7 separate regions of the Homo sapiens genome follow, and regions 2, 3, 4, 5, 6 and 7 are each linked to region 1. Evidence: promoter capture Hi-C in human tissues and cell types (Jung and others, 2019). All regions are on one chromosome and are shown on one strand. Each heading gives the region's core, a stretch centred on a gene start or on the middle of the fragment in contact. The rest is flanking DNA. Distances are from core to core; before and after follow the strand shown. Region 1 holds the start of GNA12 (G protein subunit alpha 12). Region 2 holds the start of AP5Z1 (adaptor related protein complex 5 subunit zeta 1). Region 3 overlaps FOXK1 (forkhead box K1). Region 4 overlaps FOXK1 (forkhead box K1). Region 5 overlaps FOXK1 (forkhead box K1). Region 6 overlaps SDK1 (sidekick cell adhesion molecule 1). Region 7 overlaps SDK1 (sidekick cell adhesion molecule 1).

What was found. Contacts are between HindIII fragments. The study calls those that stand out against the background at their distance.
Region 2: a contact is called between the fragment with the promoter of AP5Z1 here and the fragment with the promoter of GNA12 in region 1, in 2 of the 25 tissues and cell types used here (lymphoblastoid cells and spleen).
Region 3: a contact is called between a fragment that was not itself captured here and the fragment with the promoter of GNA12 in region 1, in 1 of the 25 tissues and cell types used here (dorsolateral prefrontal cortex).
Region 4: a contact is called between a fragment that was not itself captured here and the fragment with the promoter of GNA12 in region 1, in 1 of the 25 tissues and cell types used here (lymphoblastoid cells).
Region 5: a contact is called between a fragment that was not itself captured here and the fragment with the promoter of GNA12 in region 1, in 1 of the 25 tissues and cell types used here (dorsolateral prefrontal cortex).
Region 6: a fragment that was not itself captured here is called in contact with the fragment with the promoter of GNA12 in region 1 in 1 of the 25 tissues and cell types used here (dorsolateral prefrontal cortex).
Region 7: a contact is called between a fragment that was not itself captured here and the fragment with the promoter of GNA12 in region 1, in 1 of the 25 tissues and cell types used here (dorsolateral prefrontal cortex).

Annotation. Positions count from the first base shown.
Region 1 is chr7:2,842,245-2,846,583 of GRCh38, reverse strand. It overlaps GNA12 (G protein subunit alpha 12), which reads left to right and starts at 2,276. Exons shown (of 4, transcript NM_007353.3): 1 at 2,276-2,731. The coding sequence starts at 2,423. RefSeq lists enhancers at 1,783-1,912, 1,895-2,189, 2,152-2,969 and silencers at 2,083-2,412, 2,753-2,802. The HindIII fragment of the contact is 31,365 bases long and covers 1-4,339 here.
Region 2 is chr7:4,773,474-4,777,812 of GRCh38, reverse strand. It overlaps AP5Z1 (adaptor related protein complex 5 subunit zeta 1), which reads right to left and starts at 2,190. Exons shown (of 17, transcript NM_014855.3): 1 at 2,057-2,190. The coding sequence starts at 2,097. RefSeq lists enhancers at 1,512-1,621, 1,642-1,701, 2,042-2,111, 2,542-2,631, 2,672-2,721 and 2 more and a silencer at 2,232-2,361. The HindIII fragment of the contact is 20,755 bases long and covers 1-4,339 here.
Region 3 is chr7:4,753,340-4,757,678 of GRCh38, reverse strand. It overlaps FOXK1 (forkhead box K1), which reads right to left. Exons shown (of 9, transcript NM_001037165.2): 3 at 3,064-3,220; 4 at 2,296-2,442; 5 at 492-685. Among named protein-coding and RNA genes, the nearest start is that of AP5Z1, 20 kb to the left of the region's middle. RefSeq lists a silencer at 3,487-3,781 and enhancers at 3,779-3,868, 3,373-3,927. The HindIII fragment of the contact is 4,385 bases long and covers 1-4,135 here.
Region 4 is chr7:4,725,401-4,729,739 of GRCh38, reverse strand. The region is part of intron 1 of FOXK1 (forkhead box K1); the gene reads right to left. It overlaps LOC124901581 (a long non-coding RNA gene), which reads right to left. Exons shown (of 2, transcript XR_007060199.1): 1 at 2,877-4,339; 2 at 1-2,083. Among named protein-coding and RNA genes, the nearest start is that of FOXK1, 45 kb to the right of the region's middle. RefSeq lists an enhancer at 4,134-4,339. The HindIII fragment of the contact is 6,895 bases long and covers 1-4,339 here.
Region 5 is chr7:4,693,751-4,698,089 of GRCh38, reverse strand. All of the region lies in intron 1 of FOXK1 (forkhead box K1), which reads right to left. Among named protein-coding and RNA genes, the nearest start is that of FOXK1, 14 kb to the right of the region's middle. The HindIII fragment of the contact is 7,115 bases long and covers 1-4,339 here.
Region 6 is chr7:4,114,707-4,119,045 of GRCh38, reverse strand. All of the region lies in intron 25 of SDK1 (sidekick cell adhesion molecule 1), which reads right to left. Among named protein-coding and RNA genes, the nearest start is that of FOXK1, 570 kb to the left of the region's middle. The HindIII fragment of the contact is 4,788 bases long and covers 1-4,339 here.
Region 7 is chr7:3,908,710-3,913,048 of GRCh38, reverse strand. The region is part of intron 5 of SDK1 (sidekick cell adhesion molecule 1); the gene reads right to left. Among named protein-coding and RNA genes, the nearest start is that of SDK1-AS1, 560 kb to the right of the region's middle. RefSeq lists an enhancer at 945-2,144. The HindIII fragment of the contact is 4,501 bases long and covers 1-4,270 here.

The DNA of each region.
Region 1 (4,339 bases), core at 1,027-3,526:
CAATGGTGCGATCTCGGCTCACTGCAACCTCCGCCTCCCGGGTTCAATCAATTCTCCTATCTCAGCCTCCCCAGTAGCTGGGATTACAGGCGCCCGCCACCACACCCAACCAAGTTTTGTATTTTTTAGTAGCGACAGGGTTTCGCCATGTTGGCCAGGCTGGTCCTGAACTCCTGACCTTAGATAATCTGCCTGCCTTGGCCTCCCAAAGTGCTGGGATTACAGGCATGAGCCACCGTGCCCAGCCATATTTGGCCTCCTATGGGAGGTCATTTCCACAAACAAGCAAGACTTTCTAATCATTTTCCAAGGATTACAAAATCTTGACTCATAAGTGATACAAATTCATGGCATGATTTGTAGTATTTGTAGCAAGTGACAAATAATACATATTATGTGCATTCAAGGTTGTCAGGGAGTTGGTTTTTGTTTTGTTTTGTTTCTGAAACAGGGTCTTGCTCCGTTGTCCAGGCTGGAGTACAGTGGCACGATCATAGGTCACTGCACCCTTGACCTCCTGGGCTCAAGTGATCCTCCCACCTCAGCATCTCAAACTGCTGGGACTGTAGTTGTGAGTCACCGTGCCCAGCCTTCTGGGGAGTTTAGATCTGTGACTAAGCAAAAAGAACAAATCTGGAGGCATCACTTTACCTGACTTCAAACTATACTATAAGGCTATCGTCACAAAAACAGCATGGTACTAATATAAAAATAGGCACAGAGACCAATGGAACATAATAGAGAACCCAGAAATGAAGCCAAATACTTACAGCCAACTGATCTTCAACAAAGCAAATGAAAACAAAGTGGGGAAAGGACAGCCTATTCAGCAAATGGTGCTGAGATAATTGGCAAGCCACATGTAGAAGAATAAAACTGGATCCTCGTCTCTCACGTTATACAAAAATCAACTCAGGATAGATCAAAGACTTAAATCTACAACCTGAAACCATAAACATTCTAGAAGATAACATCGGAAACATCCTTCTAGACGTTGGCTTAGGCAAAGACTTTGTGACCAAGAACCCAAAAGCAAATGCAACAAAAACAAAGATAAATAGATGGGACTTAATTAAACTAAAAAGCTTCGGCACTGCAAAAGAAATAATCAGCAGAGTTAACAGACACCGCACAGAGATTGGACTTTGGGGACTCAGGGTAAAAGGTGGGGGGTGGCGAGAGATAAAAGACTACACACTGGGCCAGGCGCGGCGGCTCACGCCTTTAATCTTAAGGGATACCTGAGCTCCTTCTAGGAGGTTCTGATTCAGTAGATCTGGGAGAGTCAAGAATCTGTAATCAGCTGATCTCTATCAAGAGCTGATTTTGGGCTAGCTCACGTGCTAAGTGTTTGGTAAGTTCATGTTCTCAGTTTATATCTTCATGACGATTTGAGCAATGTCAAGCCATAACCAATGTCGTCAATGACACCCCCGTTTTACAGATGAGGAAACGGAAGCTAAGAACATCCAAAAGGGTTTGTTGGGGGGGGTGGGGAAAGCTGCTAAAAAAAGTTATGCAACTAGTACACCTAGTAACTGGTCGACTGGAGATTCCAACTCAGGCCCAGCAACTCCAGACCCCACTCTCTCAATCACTGTGAGACATAAGACTTTTGGGGGAGCTTCTGGTGATTTTAGTGATTAGTCAGCTTTTCGCAAAGCCTCCTAGAAGCCCATGCCACTCTCAAAGGGTGCATGTGTTTGAAATTTATGGCCCATCCCCCTCCAGTGTTTCTGGAAGGAAAATAGTGTAGAAACAAGATCATCGGAGGGAATACGACGAGCAGCTGAACCTCTTATCAGCATTTCCCAGCCTTTGGGCTACTCCGCGAGGTCCTGGTCTCACAGGCGGACCCAATCTGGGAACCAAGGGAGAATCTTTCTGTACACCTGGCACTTCTCGTCACGCCCCGTCCCCCGAACACCCAATCCAAAGCCCGTTGGGCACGTCTGATGTCCACTCAGAGCAATTATAATTGGCCATGGCGGACGATCGCTCCGCCTCCCGGGCGACCCCGCCTCCCTTTCATTCTGAAAGAAAGAACCTCAGCCTGGGCGTCCAATGAGAAGCGCCTTCACCTCAAAGATCCCGCCTCTTTCGGCGTCGACCCCGCCCCGAGGCCGGAAGGGATGCCCGCCTCCCTTGGCGAGATGAGCCAATCGAAGGGCTCTCACGGCCAGATGGACGGCAGCCGGCCCAATCCGCCGGGCCTCACGCGGCGCCGCCCGCCCCTCCGCCGGGCCCGAGTGGCGGCCGGGCGACGAGTGCGGGCCTCGGAGCGACTGCAGCGGCGGCGGCGGACGCGGCCTGAGGCGAGCGGCGGGGCGTGGGGCGGTGCCTCGGCCCGGGCTCGCCCTCGCCGGCGGGAGCGTCCATGGCCCCCGGGCGCCGGCGGGGCGCGGCCGCGGCCTGAGGGGCCATGTCCGGGGTGGTGCGGACCCTCAGCCGCTGCCTGCTGCCGGCCGAGGCCGGCGGGGCCCGCGAGCGCAGGGCGGGCAGCGGCGCGCGCGACGCGGAGCGCGAGGCCCGGAGGCGTAGCCGCGACATCGACGCGCTGCTGGCCCGCGAGCGGCGCGCGGTCCGGCGCCTGGTGAAGATCCTGCTGCTGGGCGCGGGCGAGAGCGGCAAGTCCACGTTCCTCAAGCAGATGCGCATCATCCACGGCCGCGAGTTCGACCAGAAGGCGCTGCTGGAGTTCCGCGACACCATCTTCGACAACATCCTCAAGGTGACGCGCGCCCCCCGCCCAGCACCTGCACCCAGGTGGGCCGGGGCGCTAACCCCCGCCCCGGGCCCCTCCGTGGTCCGCCGCCGCGGGCGGGGACCCCTGGGGCGAGGATGCTGGATCCAGCCCCGCCTGCACCCCACTCCCCCCCGACCCATTCCCCGAGGCCTGCTGGCGTCGTCTCTGCCCCACCCCGTCTCGCCCTTTTTGAGATGGGGTCTCGCTGTGTTTCCCAGGCTTGAGTGCAGTGGCGCCCTCACAGCTCACTGCAGCCTCGACCTCCCAGGCTCAAGCCCTACTCCCTCCTTAGCCTCCCGAAGTAGTGGGATTACAGGCGCGCACCACCAGCCCAGCTAATTTTTAAGTTTTTTTTTGTAGAGATGGGGTCTTGCTGTGTTGCCCAGGCTGGTCTCAGTCTCCTGGCCTCAAGTGATCCTCCTGCCTTGGTCTCCCTCAAGTGCTGGGATTATAGGCATGAGTCATGGCGCCCGGTCTGCCTCTGCCCTCTCTAGGGTGCCTGGGGACCGTGGGAGTGGGAACTCGGGCCAGCTTCTGGGGATGGGGAGTGGGGGCTTGGCACTTAGCCCCCTCCTGGATGTGCCCTAGCAGAATGGTATCTGTCCATTTCCCACTGGAAGATTTGTGGGATAGGAGCCCAACCGGCCGTGCCCTCCGGCTGAGCTTAGAAGAAGAGCAGTGGAGACTGGACGGGAACCAGCCATGAGTCTCTTTTTACTTTTCTGTTTTTTTAGAAAGGCTCTCACTCTCTTGCCCAGGCTGGTCTCAAGCCATCCTCCCACCTGGGCCTCCCAAAGTGCTGAGATTACAGGTGTGAGCCACACTTTCTAATACGAAAACTTCAAATGTATACAAAAGTAGAGAAAATAGTAGATTGACTGTAAAGTACCTACAGCCCAACTAAAGCAGTCATCAATTCTGTGCCAATCCTATTCACCTGTGCCCTCCCCATGGTCTCCAAGCAAATCCAACTTTGTGTAGTTGGATTAGGAAACGTTTTAGGATGTATATGAGTGGCTAAAAGATGAGGCCTCCATGTAAAAACACAACCGCAGTACCATTAGCAAACCTAAACATTAGTAATAGCTCATTATCACCAGATATCCAGTGTTCAGAATTCCTCCATTGTGGCATAATTGTTTTGTGTGACTCGACATGCATTGCAATGAATCTCCAGATTCTCCTGTCTCTTGCTTCCTTTTTTCTCTTCGCCATATTTGTGAAAGAAGCTGTAGAAGTCGGCCAGGTGTGATGGCTCGTGCCTGTAATCCCTGCACTTTGGGAAGCTGAGGCAGGAGGATCACTTGAGGCCAGAAGTTTGAGACCAACCTGGGCAACACAGCAAGACCTCAGTGCCACAAAAATGAACACATTAGTTGGGCATGGTGGAATGCACCTGTAGTCCCAGTTGCTTGAGCGGCTGAGGTAGGAGAATTGGTTGAGCCTGGGAGGTTGAGGCTGCAGTGAGCCATGTTTGGGCCACTGCACTCCAGCCTGAGTGGCAGTGAAAAAAAATAAAAGAACCATAGAGTTGATAAAGTCGGGGTTCCAGTCTCTCAGTACCGTGAGCCTGTGTTAAAGGGCCTCAAGGAA
Region 2 (4,339 bases), core at 941-3,440, 1.9 Mb before region 1:
ACAGAGGGCAACTGCAGAACTCATGTATGTTACATAGGGAAATTCAACCACACTCTATCCTCAAAAACGGCTGCCCACCCGAGCCAGGGAGGCAGAGAAACAGGTATTTAAATAGTGAGGGCTCAGCCGGGTATGGTGGCTCACACCTGTAATCCCGGCACTTCGAGGGGCCGAGTCAGGCGGATCACCTGAGGTCAGGAATTCGAGACCAGCCTGGACAATGTGGTGAAATCCCATCTCTACTAAAGATACAAAAAATCAGCCGGGTGTGGTGGCGGGCGCCTGTAATCCCAGCTACTTGGGAGGCTGAGGCAGGAGAATTGCTTGAACCCAGGAGGCGGAGGTTGCAGTGAACTGAGATTGCGCCATTGTACTCCAGCCTGGGCGACAGAGGGAGACTCTGTCTCAAAAGAGACTCTAATAAAAATAAATAAATAAATAAATAAATAAATAAATAAAGAGGGCTCTTCCTTTTGTTTTTCATGTCACAAGTTTATGACCTTGAGCAGAATGTGACTGGGAATGAAGTTCTCAGTGGGTGTTTTTCCTTGTCTCTTGGCAAGGACCTTGGGATTAACATGTTACATGCTGAGATGCCAGTATTTTTCATTTTCATATAGTCCCCACATTCACATGAATGACATATCTGTCCAGGATTGAAGGGAAGGTTGCCTATGTTGAGCTGCTGGGAGATGGTGCTGCATATTCACCAAGCCTCTTCCTAATGAGTGGACTCTTAAGGGTTATTTTGATCAGAGATTTTTGTCCTGTTCGGGCTTTAGAACTTAACCTGCCTTCAAGACCTCACTCACTATAATCACAGCAATTTCAACCACCCGAATCTTTCCCACCAATTGGTCTAGCTCTGAGTCCAGGTTTGCTTGTTTGTTTTGACATGGAGTCTCGTTCTGTCACCCAGACTGGAGTCCAGTGGTGCGATCTTGGCTCACTGCACCCTCGGCCTCCTGGGTTCATGCACTTCTCCTGCTTCGGCCTCTCACCTCACCAAGTTTGTTTACGTTTACCAAGGGGCTGTAGTGCTGGCTGTATTTTCTTTACTTTTTTTCTTTTTTCTTTTGAGACGGAGTTTCGCTCTGTCCCCCAGCCTGGAGTGCAGTGGCGCCATCTCAGCTCACTGTAACCTCCACCTCACAGGTTCAAGCAATCCTCCTGCCTCAGCCTCCCGAGTAGCTGGGATTACAGTCACCCACCACCACGCCCGGCTAATTTTTTTTTTTTTTTTTTTTTTTGTATTTTCAGTAGAGACGTGGTTTCCTCATGTTGGGCACGCTGGTCTCGAACTCCTGACCTCAGGTGATCCGCCTGCCTTGGCCTCCCAAAGTGGTGGGATTACAGGCGTGAGCCACCACGCCCGGTCAGCATTTTCTTCTTTTAAACATGTAGTATGAAGTCTTTGCCTGTTTGGTGGACCGTGAGTCTGTTCAGTCCTGGCTTACACTGTTTTCCCCCATGACTGGTTAGTTGGTGAGGAAGGAGCTACTCACTCGTTACTGGGAGTCCAGACACAGCCTGAAACCAGCCTGGAGGGTGATTTCTCAGCCTAGCTAATACATCCGCGCAAGAGAGATCTTTTTAAGTCACAAAACCCTCCCACGGTTCCGCAAAGCCCTCGGATGGCCTCCAGCTCCCCAGCCTGGCACACAGCCTTATTCCTTAGCAGGCCTCCGGACACTGTGACTTTGCGTTCTTGACTGTGAGGCACTGAAATCTCCCGGCTGCCCGATTTCCTGCCAGACGCGGAGTTCTCACCGCCAAGCCTTTGACTAAACTGTCGACTGGGTCCCACCCCACTTGCTTTCACTCACCAAGACTCTGCTCAAGTGTCACCTCCTCCGGGGACCCACCATGACCCTCCCCGACCTCCTCACCCCAAGCCTGGCCGCCGTGTTGCCTTACCCGATCCCCAAGTCTCGAGGGCGAGTCCAGTCGGGTTCCTGCAAGGCTGGCGCCCAAGCCCCTGCCCTGTGAGACCCACCCCCGTGTGCCCCTAGGGAGAGATGCAGGAAGGAGGGCCGGGGCCGCAGCTCCCCCGTACCTGGCCTGGTGGAGCAAACTCTCCGCTCCTGCCGAGAACATCACGCCGCCGCCACCAGACGCGCACGAACCTCGGAAACTCCAGGAGCTGCAGCCCAGGAGCTCCGCACCCCGGTCAACTTCCGGGACCGCGTCACGTGAGCGCAGCGGCCTTACGTGGCTGCGTCACGTGCCGCATCACATGAGCAGGAGGGACAGGTTGCCGACCAATGGGCTTTGGCGTGGAGCGACTGGGGCGGGGCGTAGGTGCCGCGGCCGGGGGTCCGGGTCGGCGCCTGGGAGCTGCGGAATCGCGCGACCCCGGAACCTCGGCACTCTGGAGCCCCGGCGCCCTTCGACCCCGGAAAGCATTTCGGCGGAAATTGGGCGCCTGGGGCTTTGGGAGAGGGCATTGCTGGCCCCAAAGTGTCACTGCCCCAGTTCTGGTTTCTGTTTCGTAAACAGCTTTGTCGTGCGGGAGTCCCTTTGCTAAGTACGACCTGAAAATCTGATGCAAACTCCGACACTTGTGGGCTGAGCCCAGCAGTGTCCAGCAGTTTGCAAGGAATAGCCGCGGCTCTGGGCAGTTTTGGGGATTTTTTGAGCTCCCATTTATTGAGCACCCATCCCGCGCTGTTCCTGCTGCTTGAAACGAAAAAATCCCTTATTCAATCCCCACGGTATTCATGGGATCTCGCGATCTCTGTTTTACAGATGAGGCCACAGGCTCGGAGAGGGGAAGTTTCTGTTCATTCTAACGGATGTGTTGGGTGCCCAAATGTGCTGGGCCCTGGCCATAAGTTTGCCATCCTGCAGACGGCCGAGGGACACAGGGCGACACGCCAGCGTCATGATAAACGCTATGACAGCCTGACCTGGTTGGGGGTCCAACCGGAGGAGGAAGGCTTCGGCGACTGCGGCCTAAGATGAGCCCAGAGGGTGTCCAGACCAAGGGGTGGGGAGGGACGGGCCTAGGGTAGCGATCTGCTTCCTATGGCTTAAATGCACCCCAGGAGGAAACTGATCTCTGGCCGCAGGGGAGATAATGGATTGGGAAGCTCCTGAGGGAGAAAGGAGGCTGGTGCAGTTGTGGTCCAGGTAAGGGAGGTTGCCCCGAAAGTAGGCAGATTCAGTACCATTTAGAGGTAGGATTTGCACCACCTGTGATTGAGGAATTTGCAGGCAGGAGGAAGAAAGTGGAAAAATCAAGGGTAACTTCATGTTTGTGGGGTGTCTGTCTGGGGCAGAAAAGGACGAGGAAATTTGTGCCAAGAGTCATTCATTAAGTGGACAAGCGATGATTGAGTCCTAGCTGCGCTAGGCACTGCTGAAGGTTCTGGGGAATAGGGTAGGGGTGGGAATCAATGTTGCGTAGATAGGGTGGGTCAAGGTTAGGCCTTGAAGGGATAAGCCCCGAGAAGACCCCTGGATGGAAGGAAGGAGGAGGAGGAGGGAGGGCTTCCTGCAGGAGTTCCAAACATGGCTTTGAGATGCCCTAGGGCGCCCAGTGATGTCTGAGGGCACCTGGTGCAGAGAATGAAGAGATGGGAATCGGTGGATGGTGAGCGGTGGATGGGAGTCGGTGGAGTGCGGCGGGTGCCCCTGGAGCCGCAGGTTGAAGACTGGCAAAGGAAAGCTGGTGACAGGTAGTCTATGGAAAGCCTACTGCCAGTGTTTAACGTTTACTAGGGTAAAACGTCCACACCAAAGCGCACAAATCTTAAATGAACTCCACTATTTACATTTCTAGAAATCGGTGGTAAATTTGCAAATGTCTTAAGCCTCGGCTCCATTGGCGACGGTGGGGAGCCGGGGGTTGATTTGTGTTTGATAATTTCTGTGGTGTAAATGTTCCTGCCATGGTTTGAGTTCAAGACCTAGACCATTTCCAGCTCCCCAGAGGTTCCCCGCTGTGGCCCCCTCCCAGTCAACGCCCACTCCCTTCCCCCACAAGTAACTGCTAGTCTCTCTTATCACCAGAGATTAGTTTTGCGTCTTTTTATACTTCATGCAAATGGAATCGTACCGTACTTAGCTTTTCTTGTTCGTCCATGAATATTTGGTCGGTTTCCAGATTTTGACAATAACGAATAGAGCTGCAGTGCACAATTGTATGTCTTCTGGGGTTCTGAGAGATGCACCCCTCTTTGTTGTATAGATACCAGGTTCACAGGGAAGCTAACTTTAACTGAGATTCCAACTGTGTGCCAGGAATCTCAATCTCTCTCTCCCTCTCTCTCTTCACACAGACACGACCTTAAGCAATTTTACCAGGGGTAATATTTGACTTGTTTCTTACAAAATA
Region 3 (4,339 bases), core at 694-3,193, 1.9 Mb before region 1:
TTCATTTGTATTACTTTTTTTTTTTTTTTTTTTTTTTTTTTTTTGAGACGGAGTTTTGCTCTTGTCGCCCAGGCTGCAGTGCAGTGGTACATACAATCTCGGCTCACTGCAACTTCTGCCTCCGAGATTCAAGCGATTCTCCTACCTCAGCCTCCCCAGTAGCTGGAATTACAGGCACCTGCCACCATGCCCGACTAATTTTGAATTTTTTTAGTAGAGGCAGGGGTTTCACCATGTTGGCTAGGCTGGTCTCAAACCCCTGACCTCAGGTGATCCACTTGCCTCGGCCTCCCAGAGTGCTGGGATTACAGGCGTGAGCCACCGCGCCGGCCTTCTTTTTTTTGGAATATTTTTGACCTGTGATCAGTTGCATGCCCGTACACTGAGCCTGAGCCCACAGATCCGGAGGGCTGACTGCGCCACGTATCTCTAAACTCCAGGGCAGCTCAGCTTTCCTAACAGCTGGAGGACGGGCGCTCAGAGAACTTTACCTTGAGGACAGAGGCCCGAAGGGGGTGCGGAAGCAGGAGACACCCCTCTGCCTCCGTTTCCGGAATGCCTGTTCCACGAGCTTGGCTTCAGAGGCAGGGTCTATTCGCCAAAAGGACCCCTTCCCAGGCTCCTCCTGGGAACGTGGGACTTTGATAAAGTAACGGTTCAAAGAGAGGTTGTGCCGGATAGAATTCTGCAGGGAAGCAGAGATATTCACCCATCACCAGCAAATCAGAAAATGAGTCCCACCCACCTCAAATCTGCAGCAGATGCGGGACCAGGGTGAGGGGAGGCCGTCCCTCTGTGCAGAGCCCTTGGTGCTGTGCTGGCTGGGCCTCACGGGAGCAGCACCGAGGCACAGGGCAGGTCATTCCTATCAAAATTTGACACCGCATAATTACCATTTTACCTTTTTTTTTTTTTTGACGGAGTCTCATTCTGTCGCCCAGGATGGAGTGCAGTGGCACGATCTCGGCTCACTGCAAGTTCCGCCTCCCGGGTTCAAGGGATTCTCCTGCCTCAGCCTCCTGACTAGCTGGGACTATGGGCGTGGGCCACCATGCTGGGTTGATTTTTTTGTATTTTTAGTTGAGATGGGGTCTCACACTCTTGGGCTTAACCAATCCTTCCACCTCGGCCTCCCAAAGTGCTGGGATTACAGGCATGAGCTACTGTGCCTGGCTGCCATTACCATTCTTTACAGAAAAAGTGAAACAGAAAGACAGATCCTGGTCTAGGAGCACATCTGGGAGAAAGAAAACACTGGGTCTTGGCCGGGCACAGTGGCTCACGCCTGTAATCCCAGCACTTTGGGAAGCCGAGGCTGGCAGGATTACCTGAGGTCAGGAGTTTGAGACCAGCCTGGGCAACATGGTGAAACCCCATCTCTACTAAAAATACAAAAAATAGCCAGGTGTGGTGGTGGGCACCTGTAGCCCCAGCTACTTGGGAGGCTGAAGCAGAAGAATCGCTTGAACCTGGGAGGCGAAGGTTGCAGTGAGCTGAGATCGCGCCACCACACTCCAGCCGGGATGGCAGAGCGAGATCCTGTCTCAAAAAACAAACAAACAAACAAAAAACCAAAGCTAGTGGATGCGCTACACTGACATTGGAGAAAATACAGGCAAATGCAACATGCATCAGTCATGGCTGGTGTGGACAAAGCTCTTAAAATGCCATCCACAATTCAGACATGTGGATTGTTTGAATAACAGTATATGGTACATTTTTCCAACTTAACGTGGGATTGTGAGGCACAGCAAGCACAAAAATCTAACAAGGTGTAGATCCATCTTCTCAGTTCTGGGGCTCAGAAGAAGGAAACTAATAAAAAAGAGTATTTAGACACAATGGTATCACAGCGCTAATGCCTTTCAGATGTACCATATGCCATTCGTGAAAACATCCCTCTTTTATATTTATCTTCTTAGTTAAAAAGATATTTTTTTTCTTTGTAGACACAGGGTCTTTCTCTGTCTCCCAGGCTGGAGTGCAGTGGTGTGATCATAGCTCACTGCAGCCTCCACCTCCTGGGCTCAAGTGATCCTCCCACCTCAGCCTCCGAGTAGCTGCGACCACAGGTGTGCACCACCACACTCAGCTAATTTTTAGTAGAAAAGAGGTTCTCTCTATGTTGCACAGGCTGGTCTTGATCCTCCTCCTGCCTCGGCCTCACAAAATGCTAGGGTTCCAGGCGTGAGCCCCCTCACTGGCCCTCTTCTGTTTTAAGGGAAGCAATATGCCTGTGAGTTCCATGTTCTAAGGGCCTTCAGAGGCGATCCGGCCCTGGGGACTCGGCTTCACCTGCCAGCCTTTGTCGGCCGTCCGGTAGTAGGGGTAATGCTTGGTGATGTGGGCGTAGATCCCGCTCAGGGTCAGCTGCCGGTCCTGGGCGGAGGAGATGGCCTGCACGATCAGCTGCGCGTAGGAGAACGGCGGCTTTGACTCATCCTGCGGAGAAACACGGCTCACGGGATGAGCTCCAGCAAGGTCCCTGAGTCTACCCCACCCACCCGTCACAGCTGATGGGGAGGAACCTTCCCACGAGAATGTGCGCGTCTTGCCGGCACCCGTCCCAGTGCCCTCCAACTATCCCATTAATGTGCTTGCATTCAACTAGGAACAACCATTTTTGCCTCATGGGAAGGAAAACTTCGGTTTTATTATAATTTAATTCTGAAATTTCTCACCTCTTCCAGAAATCAATTTGAAAACAGCTATTGGACAAAAATGAACTAAGACAAAGTTATAAGGAGAACGCCATCCTGCTCAAGGGCTGTATGAAGGCTTTGACGCCGGGCTGCCAGCGGCAGATGAACAAGGAGCGTGGCGGGAGGGGCCCTCGGTGACGGCGCCACCCCTGTCACCAGCAAATGACCAACGGGGATGATTTGGGCACGAAAACGAGAAAGGGCCGACGGCTCTACCGCCAGCTGCGGCTCCATTCCCTGTGGGCTGAGACCACCTCGAGCACACGCCCGCAGGCCCTGGGCTGTCTGTGCCGCCCGCGCCGGGTCACTATGGCCCGATCCTGGGTCACCAGGTGCACCACGGCGCCAGGTGGGCTCAGACCTTGGGGCTGTCTCCTCCAGACGTGTCTGCCTGCTGCTCCGACGCGGCCTTTGCTGCAAACTCTGCTGCCAGCTGCAGGTCCGAGGTCACGTTCTGCACAAAGCGGTAACTGGAGGAGCCGGCACCGCGTGGACTGGCTGGGCAGGAGTTGGGGACACTGAGGAGAGAGAAGGACACTGTAAGTTCATGGCTCTGAAGAGGGGGCCCCTGTGGGGCTCAGGGCTTCAGGACCTACCCAGAGGGTGGGGCTGTGGGGAAGAAGCTCACACTTTCCAATTTTAAGTGCCACCACACTGCCCGGCCAAGGTCACGCAGCGGCGGGGACAAGATGCTGGAAACGGCAGGCAAGTTTCCTTCCAGTGGTGACTTCTGCTCGGGGGCTGAGAGCACCGCGGGCCCTCCTCCTGCCATTATGCAGGGCCCAGGGCAGCACCTGGTCAGGCAGCTCTGTGGGGCCCCTCCTCAGGTCCCCCCACACACACCCCTACAGGATGTGCACCCGGAGCAGGTAGCCTCCGCGGGCTGCTGGCTCCTGCACAGGTGTCCACAAGGCGGCGCTGTGGGAAAAGGCTCGGGCCCAGGACAACCCCGTGTGGTCACAGAGGCAGATCCTGGAAAGAGGCTGTGGAGGTGCCATCGCCCTGCAGGGTGAAGGCGTGGCAGGTGGCTCTCCTGGAGACACCGCCCTCGGGAAGAGATGACCCCTGCAGTTTTGCCCTGAGCCGCTGAGATGCCCCTGCCCTCATCCCCTCTCCCTCCCAGGCTGGAGCAACCACAGATGGCTGGGAGTGACCGACACCCCCGGCTGCAGGTGAGGCTCTGGGTTGAGGCCGGGACCACAGGCAGGAGGCTGCGTCCGTCCGGCTGAGGGGTGTGCTCTGGCCTGCTTCCCTAACTCACTAAGGCAGGCTTCCGTCAGCAAACCACGGCGATGTTTTGCTTCTGAAAATGATTTCTATTACAGGTATTCAGAGAAAGCCAATGAAGACACGAAGAGTGGGTGCAGAACCTCCCGAGAGAAAGAGATCCCACTGTCCTGAGCTCACGGGCACCCACCTAGCCCCGTCCTGAGATGGACCCTGCCCACCTGTGATGCTGACATCCCCCCTCTCAGCTGACTTAGAGCCCCCGTGGCGGGTAGGATGCTCCCTGCTGCACTGCCCTGCAGGCCACCCAGAACCATCCAGAACCACCCAGAACCATCCAGAACCATCCAGAAGGTCCATTCTCCTCCTCCCGCCTTGCTGCCCTTTCCTCTGCCAGGAACATCCTTCCC
Region 4 (4,339 bases), core at 870-3,369, 1.9 Mb before region 1:
GGGATTACAGGCGTGAGCTGCTGCACCCGGCCAGGGTTTCTTTTTGAAGCTGAAGTCTCGGTCTCTGTCTCAGGAAGACCCTGGAGGAAGGTGGCGAGAGACCTCACTGAATTAGGATAGAGCCCCACAGAGGCGGCCAAGCACAGCCATGGCCACCGACCCTCCCTGGGGCTCAGGTGTGTGTCCTGCCGGGTGGGGCTCCCGGGGCCCGGCAGTCCTGAGCACCCCATGGCAGCACAGGCGAGGACGGCACCCTCGGTGTTCACAGCTCCTTCAAAATCCCCCCACCTTCCCTTCGCGGAAGGAACGCTCATCTGGTAGGTGACTGCTTCCCAATCCCAACATGGGGACCCGTGGTGACTCCCACAGCTTTACTCTGCGGAGGCTAAGGGACCCCCAGATGACTGACACGGCCAAACGGCGGTGGCCCCAGCGATCTGCATTTCTAGCAGACGTTCCACTCCCCAGACAACCCTGCCTGGCCCAGGAGAAAGCCACTGCCTGCTGCTCCCGAAGAGGATCCTGAGGATCGGAGAGTAGGCTCCGAAATCACCTCCGCTCCCCACCATGCTGTGTGGCTTAAACAGACGTAAAAAGACCGCGTAAAGATGGACTAGGCTCTTTAAGACAGCGGACACAGACACAGTGTTCTGCAACCCTCTGGGGCTGACCCGGGCAGAGCTTGCTTGCGACGAGCAATTCAGGTTAACTTTCATCTTCTGTCTCTACGCTGATTTAAGAAAATGCTTCTGGGAAGTCAAAATGGCTTAATCTGCAGATCTCAAAATGCTGTCCACAGTAATTCCACGTAGTCATTATTCACTGGCCACCTGACTGATACCAAGTACCAGACGCTGGTTTATCTGCATAGACTTTGCGTCCTCTAAGACTGTTCCCCAGGGTCCCCTTCTCTATCTAGGCAGCCTTCCTTGAATTCCCTGGCTCACTCTCATGCCCGACTTAAGAAAAATACGTTTTCTTTTCTTTCTTTTTTTTTTTTTTTTTTTTTCAAAAAGAGACGTGGTCTCACTATGTTGCCCAGGCTGGCCTCAAATTCCTGGCCTCAAGTGATCCTCCTGCCACAGCCTCCCAAAGTGCCAGAAGTATAGGCTTGCACCACCACGCCTAGCTGGTAGCAGGTTCCTGGAGGAGGAGTCCCATCTGCTGCTGGTCTGTTCTCCCCACAGCACGTGGCTCCCACAGGGCAGAGGGTCAGTACACACACAGCACGTGCACTTTAGTGCACACGAGTAAGAGTTCATAACCATGCAGTTCTCTCAGGAATGTGGAGTCTCCCAGGAGGTGAATGCATAGAAACAAGTTTACATGTGAAGTGGAATGAGCTTAATGCTCAACAGCAGCACAGCCGCAGCCGGACAACCCCGAGGACTGAGGGTTAAAATCTGGGTGCTCTTTGGAAATTCCAAAAACCACAGAGAAATGATTAGACTTTTCTGATCCTGGATTAACCTTGAAAGGACAGCAACAATACCGCCTTTGCTGTGTTAGGATCGATGATCCAAAGAATCAGAGAACGTTTGGCAGGCAAGAAAGAGTCGTGTCACATCTCCACTGGAGGCGGGGGGCTGCCAACAGAACTGCTCCAAACAGAAGCTTGTGAGCCGGTCCCGGCTGCCATCCAGGGCCAGGGCAGTCCCCTGGTTGCTGTCCCGGGGGCCCAGCTGCCTGAGGTCAGTGCCACTAAACATGGCTGGGGAAGGGCCCCTGGAAATGTCTGTGCAGTGATTGGTATCTGTCTATACCAATGCCAGTCCAATCGGCAAACACACGCCACCGACTGTCTCCATTTTACCGGCCGCTTTTCCTCCCCTCCCGAAGGACGGGTGTCCAAGCACCAATGTGAAGACCACGGACAGTCCCAGGAGAGGTTCAGGCATGGCCACAGGAGAGGTTCTCTGGCAAACAAGTTATAATCTCGTTTACTCTGGTAAAGTGTTTCCTCCGTGCGCGGGTTCCCACCCAGGAGAGAGCACTCTGATGTGACATCGAGGAGTGACGGGAAGGTGGGACAGGGCCCAGTCTGCCGCAGGGACGGACAGCAGGCCGCCCTCAGCACTGAAGCCTAAAAGGAGAAACACCGCACTTTAGAACAACCTGCAAAATCAGGCCGGGCGCCGTGGCTAAGCCTGTAATCCCAGTACTTTGGGAGGCCAAGGCAGGAGGATCACCTGAGGTCAGGAGTTCAAGACCAGCCTGGCCAACATGGTGAAACGGGTCTCTACTAAATATATAAAAACTAGCTGGGCGTGGTGCTGCATGCCTGTAATCCCAGCTACTCCAGAGGCTGAGGCACAAGAATCACTTGAACCCGGGAGGCGAAGGTTGCAATGAGCTGAGATCACACCATCACACTCCAGGCTGGGTAACAGAGTAAGACGCCCTTGCCAAAAAAATAAACAAATAAAATTTAAAAATAAAGTAAAAGAATAACCTGCAAACCTTAACATGAAATTCTATAATAATAATAGGCTGGGAGCAGTGGCTCACGCCTGTAATCCCAACACTTTGAGAGGCCAAAGTGGGAGGATCACTTGAGGCCAGGAGTGCAAAACCAGCCTGGGCAACAGAGTGAGACCCCGTCTCTACAAAAAATAAAAATAAAAAAATTAGCCTGGCATAGTGGTGCATGCCTGTAGTCCCAGCTACTCCAGGAGACTGAGGCAGGAGGATCACTTGAGCCCAGGAATTCAAGGCTGCAATGGGTTATGATTGTGCCACTGCACTCCAACCTGGGTGACAGAGCAAGACCCCGTTTGTAAAAAAAAAAAATTAAAATTAGTAGTTGACAACTAATATCTGCTATTATTATATATACCAGGTACTGTGTGCTAAGCACATTAAGTAAATTAACTCACCAAAATATCCCACTTCTCTGAACACTCTGGTGATGTATGAATACACAGAGTTTGAGGGAAAGCGCCTGTGTTGTCATTTCCCCCTATGAATAGAGTGGGCGAAAAGAGAAGTCTTGAGGGCAAAGCAGCTGCCGCCCTGCAGAGGGGAGAAGAAACAAGAGCGACATGGCAGGAGTGAGCTCCCGCTGTCTGTCTTCTGGACTCAGGCACCTCCAAGGCCCAGGCACGGTTTTTTTTTTTTTGAGACGGAGTCTCGCTCTGTCGTCCAGGCTGGAGTGCAATGTCACAATCTTGGCTCACTGCAACCTCCACCTCTCGGGTTCAAGCGATTCTCCTGCCTCAGCCTCCTGAGTAGCTGAGACTACAGGCACGTGCCACTGTGCCCGGCTAACTTTTTTGTATTTTTAGTAGAGACAGGGTTTCATCATGTTGGTCAGGCTGGTCTCGAACTCCTGACTTCAAATGATCTGCCAGGCCCAGTTTTGCTAAAGCTGATGGAGGAAACGCTTTCAGAAGCAGAGGGCAGAATCCAGGAGGGGCCTGCCAGGAAGGTGATCGCCGTCCTGCCGCGGCCAGCTCCAACAGACGGTCTGCAGCACAGGTCTCGTGCTTCCTAAGTAAAAGCATTCGTAGGCCAAAAACAAGAACGTTCTAGTGAAACACACGGAAGCCTCCTGTCCCTCACTGCATAGACATTCCTATCCAAATTCAAAGTTATTTATTTTAAGACTTTCCCTTTAGATACCATCCTTGAAGACAGCGGCAAAGCTCAAGAGAGCCCCCAAATGCAAACCCCAATCACACCCCAACAGAGAGCAAAAGGTCTTCGCTGCTTAAAAAAAAAAAAAGTTCTGTTTGTTGAAAGAAAACAGGGACAGTGTCTAAATGGCTTGACAAATCACTTCCTTGCTTCAGCCACTGCAGCCGAGCTCAGCTCACCTTCCTAATATGGGGAATCCCACCAGGCCCAAACCCACACCCCTGCCAGCCAGAAGCCCCAGCCCACGCCCAGCACATGTGCCCCTGGCTCCCTACCCCTCTGAGTGCAGGCACCTTGCCTGGATCCCAGCCTGTTGCCCTGAAGAACTGAAACCTACAGGGCAGCCCAGCCCGGGCAGCCACGGCAGTTGACGGAGATTGAGAAATCACATGTAAGTGGCATCGCCACCCACTGGGCCAGTCGGCAGCCTTGGTGTGTCCACTGCCAAGCAGTAGAGCTCCCGTCCTCCCAACACAGCCACACGCCCGGAGCATGGGCGAGGCCCGGAGAGTCCGTTCACGCAGACTGGCCGGAGGGGCCCGGCCGCACAAAGGCAGTGAGGTCCTTGCTTCTCACTCCTGCGGAGCGAAAGAGAAAGCGGACATCTGGCCCCGGGCCTCTGCCTGTGGGCAGGAGGCCGTGTCCCCCTGGCTGGCTGGGCTCCTGAGACAACAACTAAGCCCGGTTTCACTTTGGGCAACAG
Region 5 (4,339 bases), core at 819-3,318, 1.9 Mb before region 1:
ACTTTGGGAGGCCAAGGCAGGAGGATCACTTGAGGTCAGGAGTTCAAGGCCAGCCTGGCCAACATGGTGAAACCCCATCTCTACTAAAAATACAAAAATTAGCCAGGCATGATGGCGCACCCTTGTAATCCCAGCTACTCGGGAGGCTGAGGCAAGAGAATCACTTGAACCCAGGAAGTGGAGGTTACAGTGAGCTGAGATCACGCCACTGCACTCCAGTCTGGATGACAGAGCGAGACTCCATCTCAAAATAAAAAAAAGAAAAAAAAATTAGTTACTATAAAACTCATACCAAAGAAACACACACACACACACACACACACACACACACACACACACACACACACAGCCTATCTTTCCTGTATGTAAACACTAACCTTTAGAAAATAATAAGAAAAAAAGATCCTATTCATATTCCCAAAACCCAGGATTCAACCTGACAAGAAATGTGGAGAGAAATTGGTAATAAAAGGTGCTGATGAACCCAGGTAAACGCACTGATGTGGAAGAGTAGAAGTCTGTGGCCTAAGGCAGGGGTGTGCAGACGGGCCACCAGGCATGGCCAGAAGGAAATAACACAGGCTCTGGGGTCCACATGGTCTCCGGCTCAGCTCAGCAGCCACAGACAGCACTTAACAAATGTGCCTGGTGTGTTCCAATAAAACTTTATTTACAAACACAGGCAGCTGGCAGGGTCTGGCCCACAGGCTGCAGCTGGCTACCCTGATCTGAAAAGTTGGCCGTGAATACCGGCTAGCTGTTCAGCAGGCCACTGTCATCTTCTTCCTGAGCACGTTGCCTTCCCTTGGAGTGGCCGGAGACTGAGCTCTGGTCACTGGCTTGAGTGGAAGTGAGATATGCTACTTCTGGGCCTGGCCTCCCCTGAGCCTCCCTCTTTTCCTCCAGATGCAGACAGCACTGCAGCAGGTGCAGCCGTGCCCAGGCCGCTGGACTCCAGACAGTGCCAGCCTGGGTCCCTGAATCACACCTTAAGGGAGGCATTTTCTTTTTTTTGCTTATTGAGACAGTCTCGCTCTGTCGCCCAGGCTGGAGTGCGGTGGCAGGATGATCTCGGCTCACTGCAACCTCCGCCTCCCGGGTTCAAGGGATTCTCCTGCCTCTGTCTCCCGTGTAGCTGGGACTACAGGAGCACACCACCATGCCTGGCTAATTTTTGTATTTTTAGTAGAGATGGGGTTTCACCATGTTGGCCAGGCTGGTCTCGAACTCCTGGCCTCAAGTGATCCACCCACCTCAGCCTCCCAAAGTGTTAGGATTACAGGCGTGAGCCACAGCACCTGGCCCGAAGGAGGCATTTTCTGCCCACCATTCAGAAACATCTACTGTGGACTTTCCATAGGCAAGGTTTTGGGGTTTATCTATTAGAAGGGCTAGCAGGTTATAGCAGATGACACCTGGAAGTGTGTCTTCACTGGCACTGGGCGAGGCACTGAGAACAAAATGCCTCCCGAAAGAACCAGCCCCTGCCCTCGAGGGACTCGCAGCTTCTGGGAGACGGAGATACCCGGTATTCACACCAACGCTTAATGACCACCCCGCAAGTCCCACGAGCTCAAAGGACGAGTACTCCGAGGGCTTATTAAGCAAAGGCTACCTGGTACAACCGTGTGACGGGTAGACGACAGACATGTCACGCGCACACACCTGCTTATCAAGGAAATTACAAATCTGGAAGGACATGAGCAAAATACTAATATTTATGAGCTCACCTGTAATCCACCCACAGCCAATACACACAGTAAATCCAAGCTAGACAGAGCCTCGGCGATTTATTTCCCCTACATCAGCAAGCTTGTCCCTCTTCTTTATTATCCATCAGAATCTCCTAGATGATTTGCGTCTTTCCTTTGGCTTCAAGAAGGAGAGTTAAGACAGGGACAAATGGAAGCCTCCCCTCCTAATGTATGTCAGGGGTCAGACTCAGCACAAGATTCTTTTTTTTTTTTTTTTTTTGAGACACAGTCTTGCTCTGTCGCCCAGGCTGGAGTGCAGTGGTGCATCCTTAGCTCACTACAGCCTCCACCTCCTGGGTTCAAGAGATTCTCCTGCCTCAGGTTCCTAAGTAGTTGGGATTGCAGGTGCACGCCACCACACCCAGCTAATTTTTGTGGGAATTTTTTTTTTTTTTTTTTGAGACGGAGTTTCGCTCTTGTTGCCCAGACTGGAGTGCAATGGCACCATCTCGGCTCACCGCAATCTCTCCCTCCTGGATTCAAGCAATTCTCCTGCCTCAGCCTCCCAAGTAGCTGGGATTACAGGCATGCGCCACCACGCCCAGCTAATTTTGTATTTTTAGTAGAGACGGGGTTTCTCCACGTTGGTCAGGCTGGTCTCGAACTCCCGACCTCAGGTGATCCTCCCACATTGGCCTCCCAAAGTGCTGGGATTACAGGCGTGAGCCACCACGCCTGGCTAATTTTTGTATTTTTAGTAGAGACGGGGCTTCGCCATGTTGGCCAGGGTGGTGTCGAACTCCTGACCTGTGATCCTCTCACCCTGGCCTCCCAAAGTGCTGTGATTACAGGCATGAGCCACCGCGCCCCGCCTTGAGCCACATTTCAAACACTCAACAGCCACACATGCCTAGTGGTGGCCATGTTGGACAGCACAGATATAAAACATTTCTACCACCACAGGAAGTTCTAGACTCGCCATGGCATCCCTGATTGGCCAATCCAAAGGTAGGCAGGCCTGTAAAATCTGTCCACACCACAATTTACAGAGAAAAAGAGAATTGCAAAGGAAGCTGGATATTCTAGCAAAATCTTCTTGCAGGTTAGGAACCAAATTAGGGCTGCAAGTGTTCCCTGGTTAATATGGACTCCAACCCGAGGGAGGTGGATATTCTTAACGGAAAGATGTTTTCATCAAGCGGCGATGAATCACTGTTCCCAATGCCAGGGCTGTACAGCCAAGCAGACAGAATGGCTCCATCCCAAGGGCAGAGGTAGCGGACACAAACTTTGCAGTTCTCCTTCTTCTGGAGCCTCATGGCTAAGGCCGGCCTGTTCTGTTGTCTGGCAGTATCAGCTATCATTTTAAACATTCTTTCAAAGCCAGCTCCAAAGAGTTTACAAATCATTTTTCATTGACTAAGTTCCAGCCACAGCTTCTTGGTAAGGCGCAGGAGGTTCCCTAATTTCATCAGTAAACTGTATCCAAGTCACAGGATGGGAGGGTGTATTTCTGGGAAGGTAGACGACTAATCCCACCCGGGGCGGCTTGGGCATTTATCCGGGCGTCAGTTCCTCTGGCTCCTGGGTTTGGGGAATGAGACGGTCTCTGCTGACAGGCGCCCTGCAGCTCCCTGCTACTAACTGACCCCTGTGGACTCCCAGTCACCAGGTGAGACCCACACGGGTCATCCTACAGACAAGGCTGGCACAAAGCTCCAAATCTAGGCTATGATACTATTTTTGGGTTCCATATGCTGCCCCCAACAAAAACAAAAATAAAGACCAAGCCCCAGAATCCATTTGTGAGAGAGGGCACTGTTGGGGTCTGTGGGCGGGGCTGGGAGGAGCCTCTATCACAACTGTAGGTCTGGAAAAACAGTAAGGACCTTTCCCCCTCGTGATACAAATCACAAGAAGCAAAGCTTTTTCAGAACAGGCAGAAGATTGCTTTTATTCTCTGTGTACTGCTGATTTGCTGTGATTTATAGTGAGAAGGGAAAGAGAGAGAAATTTCCTCCAAGAGTTCCTATCAGACTGGGGAGGGAGAAAATGAATTTTTATGTTTATCCAAAGTGGCATAGTTTTTCAGAAAGTCTGCTTATTTTGATGTAAATGTTCCAAAGTAAAAAATAAAATAAAACAAAAAAAAACCTAGAAAAGTTTCATGAAAAATCCCACACAACAATGTCTCCATACAAACACATTCTGGCTGGGCGCGTGGCTCAGGCCTATAATCCCAGCATTTTGGGAAGCCCAGGTGGGAGGATCATGTGAGCCCAGGAGTTCAAGACCAGCCTGGGCAACATAGTGAGACACTGGTCTCTATAAAAAATAATAAAAAGAAAATTAGCCAGGCATGGAAGTAGGCACTGTAGTATCAGCTACTCAGAAGGCTGAGGCAGGAGGATCGTTTGAGCCCAGGAATTAGAGGCTACAGTGAGCTGTGATCATGCCACTGTACTCCAGCCTGGGCAACAACCCCTTGTCTCTACAGAAAAAAAACTTTTGTTATTTTTTTAAAGAGATTATTTGAAGCCAGATGAGGTGGCTCACACCTGAGCACACTGGGAGGCAGAGGCTAGAGGATCACTTGAGCCTAGGAGTTCAAGGCCAGCCTGGGCAACAGAACAAGACCGCCTCAA
Region 6 (4,339 bases), core at 837-3,336, 1.3 Mb before region 1:
AACATTTTTTAGTGAATTCAGAGTTGTGTAACCATCATCATGATGAACTTTGGAACATCTCATCATCCCCAAAAGAAGCTCTGTTTCCATCACCCATCACTTCCCATTCCTCTCAAATGCTCTCTCTTAGTCTAGGAAACCATGAATTTACTTTCTGCCTCTCTAGATTTGCCTATTCTAGATGTTTCCTACAAATAGAATCACACAATATGTGGTCTCTTGTGCCTGGTCTCTTTCACTTAGCCTAATGTTTTCAAGGTTCACCCACACTGTAGCATGTATCAGAATTCCATTCCTTTTTATTGCTGAATCATCCATTGAATGCATAGACCACATTTTATTTATCCATTTGTCAACTGAGTGATATTTTGGTTGTTTCCACTTTTCGGCTACTATGGATAAAGCTGCTATGAACATTTATGTGCAAGATTTTGTGTAGACATATGTTTTCTGCTCTCTTGGGTACATACCTAGGAGTAGAGTTGCTTTGTCGTATGGTGACTCCCTGCTCAACCTCCTGAGGAATGCCAACTGTTTTCCAACGTTTCTGAATCATTTAATATTCCCACCAGCAACGTACAAGCATTCCAATTTCTCTATGCCCACCAATACCTGTTATTGTCCAACTTTTCTTATTTTAGCCATCTTATTTTAGGAGTGTGAAGTGGTATCTCATTGCAGCTTAGATTTGCATTTCCCTAACAGTTAATGATGTTGAGCATGTTTTCATGTGCTTGGTGGCCATTTGTAAATCTCCTTGGGAGGAATGTCTATGCCGATCCTTTGCCCAGTTTTTAACTGGGTCATTTGTCTTTTTGTTGTGAAGTCTTTATATATTCTAGATATAAATCCCTCATGAGATACATAATTTGCAAATATTTTCTTCCATTTGGGGAGTTTTTTTCATTTCCTTTATGACATTCTTTGAAGCATAAAGGTTTTCATTCTGATGAGGTCTAATGTATCTACTTTTTCTTTAGTTGCTCGTGCTTTTGGTTTCTGGAACCAAATGTTACATTAATTTCTGTTCTGGGAGTTCCTGGGCCATCCATATAATGCAAATTCAAAACCCAGTCCTGAGCTGGGCACAGGGCTCAGACTGACTTTTCATTCTCTACTCAGAGTCCAGGTAGACATACAGTCAAACCTCTGCAGGCAGAGTTTCAGCCTCTCCTAGGAAGGAGGGAAAGGCCTTCAAGAGCCGTGTCTCAACTGCAGGAGTTTAGGCCCTAACTCTTCCCTTACACAGATTCAAAGCTGACTCTCATGTTACTGCATGGCCTGCCCAGTGTATCTACAGTTCCCGGTGGCACCTGCAGACACACTGGATGCGTGCTGGTGCCCACAGTGTGCTGGGCACTGCTGGGCCCAGGACCAGGGTGCAGACTCCTTACCCCAGGTCCTGAAACCACCAGGAAAGATCCAACCTGATCCTATCCCACCCAGGGCAGCTGCGGCACCAGCCCAGCACTTCCTGCTGAACTCTTTCTAGTTCCTGTTATGCCTCTGACACCTGAGGATTTCCCTGTTTTTCTTATGAGTGTGTTGATGAATTCATTTATTTACTTATTTTTTAGAGGCATAATAACCTGCTCCGTTGGCCAGGCTGGAATGCAGTGGTGCGATCATAGCTCAGTGCAGCCTCAAACTCCCAGGCCCAAGCCATCTTCCTGCCTCAGCCTCCCAAGGAGCTGGGGCTACAGGTGCATGCCACCACACCTGGCTAATTTTTGTATTTTTTGTAGAGATGGGGTCTCACTATGTTGCCTAGGCTGGTCTTGAACTCCTGGACTCAAGCTATCCTCCAGACTCAGCTTCCCAAAGTGCTGGGATTACAGGTGTGAGGACCCTGCCTGGCCAATACATTTAAGATTCCAGAAAGTTATATTTTATCCATAAGTTTTTGTTGGTTATGGCAGAAGTTTTAATTCTGAAAAACTATTTTCTTGGCCTGCCTTTTACTGGATTTAGAACTGTCCCTCTGAACTTCTCAAGTTCTCTCCTTTGTCACAAAGATTCAGACAGTGAAGATAACAGAGATTTTTGAAATCCACGTGACCACAATCCCAGGCTGCATGTGGGTGCGTCTCCACCTTTCCTTTGGAACGTAATGAAAGCTTCAGTCTGAAGGAGAGCCGAGGGACACTGGGCCCAGCCCTGCTGCTTGGGCAGTTCCATCCTGAAACACTGGTCCTCTCAGAAGCACACTGGTTGTCACCACGGCTGCTCTTCCGGGGCTCTCATTGGTGGGCTCCAGGGTTCACGCCACGCCCTAACAGCATTCCCACAAGGCCATGGTTCTGCTTCTCCCTGCTACTGCTTAAGAGTCCTCCTGTCTACCCTCACCTCCTGCCCTCTGAGAAGAGTAGGAAGAAATAAAGCCACAAAGTGGCACAGGAGCTTTGGCTTGGTGCTGGTGGCTGAAAGTTAACCAGCATTGAGGAAACCCAGGGGGCTTCTGTGCATTGCAACCCACTGTGCATTACAGTAACCTACAAGGGTGGCGGCAGGTTCAGACCTGTCACCAACGGGACCCGGGGAATGAGCAAGAAAGGATGAGAGGAGCCTTTATCCAGAGCTTCCCAGGCCCTTCCACGCTGTGGCACACAGAGCGGGTGGCACGTGCAGATGCACTGGGCACGTGCTGGTGCCCTCGGTGTGCTGGGCGCTGCTGGACCCAAGCCCAGGGTGCAGACTCCTCACCCCGGCCTGGCTGTCTCGAGGGTGGAGGGGTGGTGTTGGGAATACCTGCACCCATTGCAGCACCTGGCACGGATAAGATGAGCATTAGGAAGAGGTGAGGGGGTGGCACCGCCCAGGGCTCCAAGTCCCCTTTCCTTATTGCTGGGAGCTGATCTGCGTCCTCACTCCAGCTGTCCTCAGAGGCTGCCCTCCCACCTCGGCACCACCTTCTATGTTTCCCTCTTCATCTTTAGAGCAGACAGGCCAGGCCCGGGAGCCCTGGGCCCCCCAAGTGTCTATGCTTTCCTCCCTTTTAAACTCCTCTGTCCTGAGGATGGCAGCCCCCCAAAGCCACCTCCACCCATGCCAACAGGCCTTGTGCCCCCACGTCATCCGCCTCCTCCTGCTGACTGTGCGAGGTTTTCTCTGATACCCGTCACGCACTTGGCTTCCTAGCTCATCTTTCTGTCCATTTCCCATCAAAGTCACTCTGAGTTCCAACTGTGTCTCCTAAGGCAGTTTCCAGCATCTAGCAAGTTAATTAATTTTTCTACTGAAAACAACAACAGGGGGACTGTCTCTTTGCACGGCATTGTAGTACAGGGACAGAAGCAGGGAGGCTCTGGGTTGCAGAGAGGGCAGATCCGGGGCATTTCCGAGGACTCTGGGGTGGAAACAGCTGTGGGCAGGCCCTGGCCATCTCTTGACTCCCCAGCTTCAAGAGCGATTCTGTGCCCTGGGAGCCCCAAGGAAAGGAGGACTCATGCTGGGCTCAGGAGCTGTCTCCAGGAAACAGAGCCATGTCTACGACAGCAAAAACAATGGAGCCAAATATTCTCATTAACGCAGAGAGTCAGAGAAGAGAAGCAAAAGAGAGCGAATAAGAGGGTTTGACATCAATAAGCAAAATGGATCTAGGCTCCCTGGGGGAAGGAGTGGGGGAGTCTTGTTCTTTTCCTCTGGCCACTGACCCAGTTCACCATCTCAACCCTTCATACCTCCTCCTCATCCCATGTCTGGACAAAGGTCAGGAATTTAAGTTGTATTTCTAACAGCCTAGGTTAGTCCAGAATGAACAGCCCCTCCATCTGTCAAGCACAAGCTGTGACTCTCATCCAAGAAGCCTGGGGCAGAGGTGCAGCTGGTTCATTCCTTCTCCAGACAGAACCTCACTAATTCAGATCAGACTGAAGGGACCGGGGTCAGGTGACAGTGAGTCCTTCATGAGCGTTAATTGCCGTCCTTCCTTTGGGTTTCTAAAAATTTAAGGAGGGGGGCAAGAAAAGCTCCTATGACCCACAGTTGGCCAGCGGAAGTTAGTCCACAAAGCCCAGAAGATTAGGCAGCCACTTTCAGCATTAGCACAGGGCAGCAGAGGTCTGCTCAAGGTTGGCCAAAAACACTGCTCCATTGCTTCCTGGCAACTGGCAGAGCCCCATGACTGAGCCCCAAGAAGATGAACAGAGTGACGTTCCACTCCTGAACAGGTCTGAAGAGGTCCATTCTTTGCCTTCTTTTCCCTGCTGGCAGCTGGGTGCAGAAGGAGATTAGTCCCACAGAACGGTAAAGCCTGGGTCCCTGAATCACCTTGTGGAAGAGAGCCACCCGCCAAACAGGAACGCCCACCTTAGACCACAATATGAGTGAGAAGTAAACT
Region 7 (4,339 bases), core at 771-3,270, 1.1 Mb before region 1:
AATCACAAGCTCTCACTTTAGAAGGGGAGGGGAAGATGAAGAGAAGAGAAAAACAAGAGCCTGATCCACATCTTGCTTGCCTTCGGCCCTCCACGGTTGCTTTGAGCCCTTACATGAAAACTGTGACTTGCATCTCGTGGGAACAGATGTCGTAGTGGAAAGGTCACTGCACTTTTTTTTGGTTAAGGACTAGAAATCTTTTTCAAGCAAGTCCATGTATAAATAAAGAAATCGGGTCTTCTTCTCCACCCAGCTGCCAAGTCCCTTAGGTCTCCTTCCTCTTCCTTCTGTCAACTGTCTTGAGCCCCCACGGGCCAGACCGTGCCGGTCTCTGCCAGAGGAGAATGATAAGTAAATGCATGAAAAGCCATCCGTGGGGTGGGCCCAGGGGGCAGGAGAGCCCAGAAGCGGGTGCCCCAGCCATGCCTGCCTGGGAGAGGGAGGTATTTGGAGGAGTTGTGGGTGGTTGGCTTCCCTATCTTCAGTCCACTGAAGCTTAGCTTGAGCAATCAGTACCTCTTCCCCGGATAAATATCAAAGCCTCTCACTGGCCTTTCTTCTTGCTTCAGCGCCTCACAGAATGCAATGTTTCTTGAACCACACTCTGTGGCACGCTGGTGTTGTACTTGCTTATTTGGTCATGCAAAAACACTGAGTGCCTACTGTGCACCAGTTACCGTGAAAAAGAGGTTTTGTGGTCAAATACATTTTGGAACTCTCTCTTCTCAGAGTTCACAATACACGCATTAGCATCTGAAAGCAAATTTTGGAATAAATAAAGAAAGCTCCTCCTCCTATAGCCTAAGAAACACATTTAGAAATGGATCCACTGGCTCATCCTCTCTATTACGGAGTCCTCTTCCTAAAACACAGCGCTCATCACGTAGCTCCTCGGCTTTAAACCTTCAACGAGGGAACAAAATAAACTTCGACTCTGCTCAAGCTCCTCTGTAGTTTGGTTTGTTTCCCAGACTTCCTTGGCCGATCCTTTGTTCTAAGTGAACAGGGCCCCCTTGCCCTGCACGCCCCCGCACCTACAAGCTCTTGCTCAAGTTGGCCCCTTCCCTAGAATGCCCTCCCCCACCTCATCTCTGCTCTGAGTCATCCTTCCAGGTGCAAGTCAAACGTCTCCACAGCAAGGTGAGTACTTTATCCAGCTCCCTCAGGTCACATATTTGCACCCTGCACTAGATTATAGCATGATTCACTACTGAGGGAAATTTATAATTTCCCCTTAAGCTCCTCCAGGGCAGGGCCTGCTCCTTGTTCAGCTGACTCATTTTCACATCTGTGTGACCTCCCTCCTCCAACACCTAATACAGAACTAGAGACAAAATGGGTACAGTAAAGAGATGGCTGGCCTGGGCTACCACCGGCTGTAAGACCTTGGGCAGGTGATGTGGTTTGAATGTGTCCTCCCAAAATTCATATGTTGAAACCTGCTACCCAAGGTCATAGCATTAAGAGGTGGAGCTCTGGGGAGGAGAATGGATCAGGAGGGCAGAGCCCTTGTGAATGGGATTAGTGCCCTTCCTCAGGTAGCCTGAGGAAGCCCGTCTGCCCTTTCCGCCATGTGAGGACACAGCAAACCAAGAAATGAGCCCTCACCAGACACCGAATGTGCTGGTGCCTTGGTCTTGGACTTCACAGCCTCCAGAACTGTGAGCAGTAAGTTTCTGTTGCTGACAAGCCACTCTGTCTATGGCACTTTGTTACAGCCCCCCAACAAAGACAGTAGGCTGCCTAATTCTGATTGCTGCCCCTTCCTAAAGTGGGGGTACAGGATCTAGAGGACAAAGAAGCATGGGTTTTAAATTCAGCCATTTCACAGGCAGAAGGAACAATCCCACAGCCACAGCAGCCATGTGAGCACATGTGCCTTCAGGTTTATCTGTAATTTTTTTTATGTGTCCTTTCAACTTTTGTCCCAGTTACAAAGACTGCAGAGGCCTCCAGCCGGGCCACCCTAGTCCCCCCAAAATGGAGAGCTGACCCAGAGGCAAGGCCACCCTCTTGGAAAGGCTGTGCATCAGTGGCGCTGGAGGAGAGCGGAATGCCCAGAAGAGCAGGCAGCGGGAGACAGAGCAGCACGCCTGAGCTTGGGGAGAGAGGAGCCACAGGGCCCCAGGAAGAGGCCCACCCTGCTCCACAGCGTGGGCCACATTTATGGGATACAACAGAATGCCGATTATCCGGACTAACTGGGGATTTAACAATCTGAATAATCAGTTTTTCTGGATAATTGATCACGAGGGATGCAAGGAGAGGAATCATCAGCCATTCAGGCAGAAAGGCCCAAGAATTGGCCTTTCAAGTGACCTGAATTCCAGAAATTAACACTGAACACTATGTATCATGCAACTGGGAAAGGAGGACGTCCCATTCTACACCTGTCAATCACCGGAGCCTGGGCAGCGTACTTATGCAAAAAACAAGACTGGGGTCTCAGGAAGACCTTCTTAGAGGCCTGTAAAAGCTTCAGACTAGGATGGTAGCGCCGAAGGTAACCGAATGGCACGATGACTCAGTACTTTTTGGTGACCTCCGAAAGCTCAGGCACCTTCCAAAATGCTAAGGACACAGATGCCCGGCACACACATACACACACAGAAATCTGGCCTCTTCAGGAAATATTCCGCACTATGCAGCTATTTTCCCTACACATGCAAATTCTCCAACACAGAGAGTCTTTGTACACATAATACTGTTTGAAGAATGTGCCTGACAAGAGACAATTTTGAACAGAGTATTGTGCTGTGGTGATGTGGCAGCACAGCAGAATAATCTGTTTTTGTTTTGTCTCTCTTTGAAACGCTCAGCCTCTCTCTCTGCTTGGCTCTGTGCACTACAGAGAGAACAGAGGCACCAAGCGCTGCACATTCCAGGGGAAAATAATGCTCCTGTCTGCTGACGCAGCACCACGCAGGGGGCCATTCGCACACAGGACTTTTTCTTTTTCCCCCTGCAAAGAAACACAATGATTCCACATCAGCCTCTCCAAAAAGTGAACAGTCCTTTCAGATGGCCTTTCCATCCATGAGCGCTTTTATTATCTTTATACATTTTAAATGAACCTTGCCCTTGGCCTCTACTTTTTCTAACATGAAATATTCACTTCCCCGGGGTGTAGATGCATAATAATCCCTCCTGCTCATTATAGGTTTTCAAAGCTGCATTTCCATCCTGTTGTATTTAACTTTTATTCAAAAAAAGGCTGATTTATATATGAAGAGGTGCCTCGCTTTAGGCAAGCACGCTATGCAAAAAGATAAAGCCATCGACCATGAGAATTAAGAGACGGATGGTTCTTTAATCCCTGAGCTTCTTTGTAGTAAATTAAAAAATATTCCTACTTTAAAGCCGTGTATTTGTGTATCCTTAGACATAATACAGCCTCATACTGGAGAGCGCATATAGGCCAGCTCCACGGACACACATGTGATGAGTGCTCAACACTGTAGTGGGTGTGGTGGGGTCACTAACACCGTCACTGTCCCCTTTTCCCGAGCTTACTGTCTTTGGGAGAGGTAGGGATCAGCAGAAGCATAAAAGGTAGACAGTGTTGCTGTGTGGCCATATGAACCTGAGCAGAGGCCACAACTGGAGGACGGAGGAGGTCCCTCAGGATGGGCAGAGGCTACTCCACCCACCCCTGCTCCACAGCTGCTCCACAGGAGCCAACAGCAGTGCCTGCACAGTAGATGGGGTGTCCGCCCCGCAGCCCAGGCAGGATTTAAGTCTGGAGTTATTGGCGGCCATCTGGTCACCACCCGAGAGAGCCTGCTGGAGAGCAGAGCTGAACTAGAGGACAGCAGAACTCCGTAATGGAAAACAGGTGTATGATGGAGTAGAGGATGAGGGTCTCACTGCGTCTGAAGATGGTCTGCCTTGGACCCTTCTCTGACTTATGCCAAGATACTTCCTATTTATTTCTAAAGCCAACTCCAGGAATAAATAACTTTTAGGGCAACTGAGAGAAAAGGGGGCCAAAAGGCACAGCCAGAGGGGCTGTCTTCCTCATCTCCTCCCACCCTGGCTCACTTGAGCAGGGGGCAGCCATCCGGGGCAGGCTCACCTCCATCTCCTGATGGCCCACCCCAACTCCAGTGTCACCCACACTGGTAGAAGAAACATCCTAGGGAAGTAGGAGAGTCCAACCCATACCTTTCTAATGTGGATCACTGTCTCTGTATTCTAAGGTACCAAAAAAAAAAAAAAATGAATTCTTTCCTCCTAAGTCCCCCCAAAAATGCTTCCTTTTCCTGACTCCCGCTCTAGACATCCGGGAGACACAGGGAAAATAAATTTATCATGTATTCTCTTACAAAAGAAGATGATT